Linked DNA regions of Homo sapiens: region 1 is linked to region 2. Evidence: promoter capture Hi-C in human tissues and cell types (Jung and others, 2019). All regions are on one chromosome and are shown on one strand. The core of a region is centred on a gene start or on the middle of the fragment in contact, and the rest is flanking DNA. Distances in the headings are between cores, read along the strand shown.

The links. Contacts are between HindIII fragments. The study calls those that stand out against the background at their distance.
Region 1: a contact is called between a fragment that was not itself captured here and the fragment with the promoter of SHANK2 in region 2, in 2 of the 25 tissues and cell types used here (liver and stomach).

Annotation. Positions count from the first base shown.
Region 1 is chr11:71,200,149-71,203,078 of GRCh38, forward strand. All of the region lies in intron 2 of SHANK2 (SH3 and multiple ankyrin repeat domains 2), which reads right to left. Among named protein-coding and RNA genes, the nearest start is that of SHANK2, 51 kb to the right of the region's middle. RefSeq lists an enhancer at 1. The HindIII fragment of the contact is 5,516 bases long and covers 1-2,930 here.
Region 2 is chr11:71,251,014-71,254,311 of GRCh38, forward strand. It overlaps SHANK2 (SH3 and multiple ankyrin repeat domains 2), which reads right to left and starts at 1,564. Exons shown (of 26, transcript NM_012309.5): 1 at 1,412-1,564. The HindIII fragment of the contact is 4,011 bases long and covers 519-3,298 here.

The sequences.
Region 1 (2,930 bases), core at 329-2,828, 51 kb before region 2:
TGCTAGTCTATTTTCTGCCTCTGTGGATTTGACCAATCTGGACAATGCGGATAAATGGAGTCACATCATACGTGGCCTCTGTGTCTGGCTCCTTTCACCACACGTAATGTCCTCAAGGTGTATCTATGCAGTAGTCCTCATCCGTAATCCATTCCTTTTCAGGCCAAGTCACATCCCATCACATGGGTACACCACACTGTTTATTTATTACTCAGCTGACAGACATCTGACTGATTCCAGTTTTGGGCTATTATAAATAACGCTGCCATGAGCATGTATGTAAACATTTTCACTCGTACCTATGATTCCATTTCTCTTGGGGACACACCCAGGAGTGGAACTGCTGGCTCATGTGCTAACTCCACGTTTAACTTCACTCTACATTTGACTTCACTCTACATTTGACTTCACTCTACATTTGACTTCACTCTACATTTAACATAACTCTACATTTAACTTCACTCTACATTTAACTTTTTTTAGGACTTGCCAGGCCGTCTTCCTCAGCGGCAGCCACATGTTAACCAATACCATGGGTATGGCTCAGACAGTAATTCTCTTCCCACTGCTGTCATTTTGTCTTCAAGCCTTTATCTGCATGCTCAGTCAGGAGCTTCACACCATGGTCAGATGTGTTTGTCCTCAGTCACCAGACCACAGAGAGGTATCAAGTCTCAATTAATACACACACACACACACACACACACACACACACACTTCAGATCTTTATTTTAGTGACTGTCATATGGGGAAAACCCTATGTGTAAATAAAGGTATGTGCTCAAAGCTTTGTTCAGTGGTGCATTCAACCAATATTGGGCACCTGCAATGTGGCAGGGCCTGCCACGGGCCCCGAGGATGCATCAGTAAACAACATAAAGCCCCCACACCGACCTCCCCCGAGCCATCAAAGAGACAGACACGACAGTGATGGTTTAAGACAATTAGCAGTGCCCAAAAATTCCTCCCAAGATGGAAAATTAATCTTCCAATTAGGCCATGAGGAGCTCCTGCAGATGACATGCATTCATTTCCCTCAACTGTTCCTTCTCCACAGCAACCACGTGCCCTCCCCCATATTCCAACTTGACAAAGCGGTGGAAATCTGAGGCACTGCAAAGAGAGAGGTCTCGGCCACGAGAAGCACCTCTTGTCTCATGGATATATGGGATCCGTTGTGATCCCGAGGACAAGCACGTCTTTCCACGCCTCAGGAGAGCTGTGCTGCCCACCGCTGCCCGCCCGGAGATTGCGCCGAGCTGGCGTGTGCCACAAAGGGTGATCACCACGCTGTGTCCACTGCACTCCAATGCCATGATGGTCGGAGCTGCTGCTGCTGCTACTCACTTGGCCACAGACGGCGGTCACTGATGGCGGTCACCTGCACAGCAGGGGCTCGTGAGTGAGGGTCCCTATGAGCCGGTTCTCTTTCAAGCCCAGACACCAGTGACCTCAGCTTTAAGATAAATCCAGTGACTATTCCCATTTTACAGATAAGAAAAGCAAGGCTGAGAAGTATAGGTCACAGGTTCACGGCCACAGAGTGGGTACAAAGCAGAGACTTGTCCACGCCCAGCACACAGACTCCGAGGGTAGTGGGGCTGGCTTTGAAGTCCAGAAGGAGCACGTTGTCTCCCACCAGGAGACGGGGGATGAATCTGTGGGAAGGAGGCAGGGATGAGGCACCTACTCCAGTTCCTCCAGTCGCCCTGACCCGAGGAACAAACCTGCCTCCCGGAACCTGCCCAGTGGCTTCTGTCATTGCCAAATTTCAAAGGCACAGCCATGAGCCCTCCAAATGGATTAGGGTCCCCTGTTCTACAGGATACCGACCAATTATTGTTATTTGGACAAGTCCTGGTTTATCTGATTCTCTGATTCTTCACAGCTGTGTGGAGGAGGGGTGTGCCCACATGGCTCACGGGTACACAGTAGGTGCTTAATCACTGTGTGCCAAGTGAATGAATGGCTGCTTGATGATGAGGGTGCAAGGTGCACAAACAACTCCCTGCCTTTAAGGCATCTGCATGGGCCTGGTGGACACACCCTTCTGCCGGGTGGCAGCCCAGATCAGGAACTCACCTCAGAGGCCACTGGTTCCCCAGCCCCATCCCCTCCTCATTCCTCCCCTCAGGGCCTAGACAGGTCATGGAACCACATCTCAGAATGTGCACAGCAGCACAGAGGGCACACAACCAGCCACTCTCTGCAGCTCAGGTCCTTGTACCTTAAGAACAGCCTACCTGGCGGGTGGGCAGGTGACTGAACCCATTTCAGAGATCCATAGACTGAGGTCAGAGAGGTGAGGGTACTCCCAGCCCCTCGGCGAGACAAGGCAGAGCTAGGACCCAGGTCTTCCAACTCCACACTCAACATCATACCCACATCTCAGGCTACCCCTCCTCAGGAGCTGGCTTCCAGGTGGCTCTGCCCAGGTGTCAAAAGGGGTCGATGTTGGCCAGAATGACCCACCGGGAAAGCAGCCAGCACACAGAGTCACTAAAGGTGACCTTTGGGAAGTCTCTGAGTCATAGGCCAGTCAGAGCACACCATGGACAATCCTCTTGTCCATGTGGGATTCCTGACCAGGTCCCACCCAAAGGGCACAGCAAGGCTGTCTCCATCCACCTGGCCGGCTCCACTGCCTGCTGTGCCAAAGTCACCTGCCCTGGTTAAGTCAATGAGCATGCAAGGGGCAACAATGAGCACGGCACTGACCCAGGGTCAAAGCCATGGGAAACTGCCTTGGAAAAAACGGAGCCAGATGCCACCAGGATAGTTGGCACTGGGGCTGGGTGACTTTGACCCTTTTTCTCTGTTTTCCAAATTTTCTGTGGAGCAGCAAAATAAGAAGTAAATTGAGATATGGAAAACACTGTGTGTCCGCAGGACTGTACACACAGGCATGCTCATGGAGCAGGTGGCCCTGT
Region 2 (3,298 bases), core at 314-2,813:
TATTTTCGGATGGCCTCTGAGGACGCCCAGGCCCCTGCCAGCAGCTGCCAGCCCCCGAGAGCCTTACGTACTTTCGCCTGACCCCCCCACCACCCACCCCTCACCTGCCTGGCTCGAGCGCCTTCTCAGTTCCAGGCGCCCCGAGCCCCTTTAAAAGATCGGCTGCGAAAACCCACGGTCACCTGCACCACCCTTTCTCCCTCTGGGTGCTCCAGCCCCACGGAAAGGCAAGCCTCGCCCACGCGCCCACCCACCTCGAGCAGGGTGTCCGCACGCAGACCCGCCTGGAGGGCGCCGCGCTGCACCCCCACGCCAAGCCCCAGAACCCTGGCGGCGAGGTCCACCCCAGCCCCCGCATCCCCCCGAACCCGGGCGGCGAGGCCCGCTGCGGTGGTCGCACCTGCTGGCTCAGTCCGGCGGCTCCAGCCCAAGTGACGAGTGCGCTGTCGGCGTCTCTGGGAGCGGTCCCCGCGCCTGGCGCCCGGGGCCGGGGCCACCCGGTGGAGGCGCCTGGGCCGCGGGCTGGGCGGGCGGAGCTGCCCGGCCGCCGGGGAGGAGGGATGCCCGGGCGAAAGTTGCCAGGGAAACTTGATCAACTCGAGCGCGCCGGTGCCAGCTTCCTGCATAATTCACGGACGGTGGCGGCCGGGCTGCGCCCGCCGGGTCTCCCTATCCCAGCTGGTGAGCACGGCGGGCCGGGGTCGGGCACCCGGCTGTGGCTCAGCGCGACCCCCGGGACCTGGGCGCCCGACCCGCCACCCCCGGGCCCGCACCAGGCGCGCCGGCCCCGGCCTCTCCGCGACAGCTGCTGCTGCCGCCGCGCGCGCCTGGATGGGAGCTCTGCGTGCAGGGCCAGGGTGACCGCAGCGGGGTCTCGGGGGACCTGGCGGCCACGGTTCGGGTCTCCGCCCCCGCGCGCCACCTGGCGGCCCCGCGCCGGCTCCTCCGCTGGGCTCGCTGGCCCGGGTCCTAGGGCTGGCGGGCGGTGACCCGGGGCAAGGAGACCCCGGGAGAGCGGGGGAGGTCGCGCCACACGCGCTGTTCCAGAGGAAGGGGCAGGACGCGCCAGAGACTACGTGGTCCATGCGCGCAGGAGATAAAGCGGGGGCTCCTTCCTGCGCTCTGCCCCCACGCCGCTTCCAAAGCTTTCGACACCGGCCCCTGCCCGGGAAGAAAGGCATGCAGGGGGAAGGGCTCTCTACGGAAAATCGACCCCCACCTGGACACGCGGCTCACTCCCCCCAGCGCCCACCTCTCCAGCCTCTCTGGGTCCAGGACTGCGCTTACCCGGTAGTTGGTGCTCCCGGAATCGAGATGCCCCCAAAATGCCGTCAGTGAGCAGGATCGGGTGCCCAAGGGCCACCTCCCGTCCTCCCCGGCCCGCGCCCTGCGTCCCCGGCCGCCGCCTCACCTGGCTCGGCGAGTCGGGGGCGGGTCCGAGCCCCCCGGGAGCGCCAGCGTCCGCGCACACCTGGATCGGCCGCGGGAACCCGAGCGGCGCCGCGCCCAGCCCCGCCGGAGCTCAGGAGCCGCCGCCGCGGCTCAGGTGCAGGGGGTGGGGAAGGACCCGGCCCCGCCCGGCGCGGGAGCTGGCTCCGGCGAGGGTGGGGGAGGGGCCCTCTCGCCGCCGAAAGGACGCGTGCGGCCCAGGACCCGCGGGCGACCCGACCTGGACCCCCACCCCCGCCCACGCCGCGGACCTCAGTCCCCCGCCCCGACCCCGCTCCCGCCCGCGGCTGCGGCTCGGGCGTGCGCGTGGGGTCTGTTGTGGCAACCCCGGGAGACCGCGGGGCGCCCTGGCCGCCTCTGCCCCGCCCCGGGCTGCGTGGCTCACGGACCTCCCCCTCCCTGGCCAAAGCCGGCGGACGAGAAAGTCCCTGATTTTTGTAAAGTCCGGTTCGGTCTGCACGGTTATCCCGAACGCAGCTGGCTCCCGCCACAGAGTATTTATAATAATAGGATTTGGAAATAGAGGCTGCCTGCACATCAAAACGTTTGCAGAGCAAACGAAAACTTTGTACCCGGGTGATACGCCGGCGTCTGCTGCCCAGGCCACCAGTTCTGGGGCGCCTTCCGCCCAGGGGTGCACAACGGTATCTCCGCCAGCTGCCCTCCAAGCCAAGAAAAGCCAGGGGGTGGGGTGGGGGGAGCAAAAGCCAACGGCTCGGGTGAATCCCAGAGGCCAAAGGCACCCTCCGGAGACTCCAGGAATCCTGTTATTATCCAGGACTCCGGATTGCTAGGTTTGCGGAAGCCCAAAGGGGCGGGTCCTGAGCTTGGAGCTGTGGCCGCCGTGTGAGCCATCGGCTGATAGATTTTCTCAAGGCCTTAATCATTCACTGGGAGTCTCCCCCAGTACGAGCTGCGTGTTTCTGAGTAAGCTCTTGAGGTCTCTGTGTTCTGAGTTTTCCAGTATTCTGGAAGGTGTGGGTGGGGATCAGAGTCCAAGCTGTGGAGTAGAACTGTCTCCAGAACCCTGGAGCCCGGCATTATGCAAACCCCTAACTGTGCCCCCTACATAGAGTGAGTGTGTGTGTGTGTGTGTGTGTAAGTCAGTCTATCTTACAGGACATGCCTGAGAGGTTTGCATGGGCTGGTGACTTCAACATACCAAAGGCAAAGTTAAATATTTGCTCTAGATACTTTTTTTTTTCAGCTTGCATAATTGTCCCACATTTCAAAGAAGTCTTTAAAAGCACTTAGGTTAAAAAAAAAAAAGTTGTGTTTGGGGCCTGAATATTTCAGGACACACATGGAATAAATATTGTAACTCCTTGAGGGCAGCTGCCTTATGTAAATGTCTTTCTCGTCGCTGCTTCCTTAAGCATACACTTGATAAAATATTTGTTGAATGAATAAAGGAGTCAATCAATCAAAAAATAATAATCCCCAAAACAGGAAGAAGGACGCCCTGACAGGATCCTGCAGGCATCCTTTGTTTGGCATGGAAGCTGGGGTGCCTGGGAGAGGTGTGAGCAGGACAATCGGATGTTCTTTGGGTTGGCCGGTGGCAGATGCAAGACCTGGGTTGCAGGGAGTGGGGGTGGGGGCTCTACCTTTCCATAACAGTCCATCAGTACCCTCCCCACCAAAGAAGGCAAGTCATCTGAATAAAGTGGTGTATTTACCCTGCAAACCCAGCTCAAAGACCTATCCTCAGGATATTTCCCTCCTCTCACCAGATTCCCACCCCTGGAACACCCCTTCCTAGGTTTCTAGAACCACTGCTGCAGATAGACCAGGCAGCTGGTCACAGTTCAATTGTGAACATTTTTCGGCTATCTCCATGCAAGGTTTA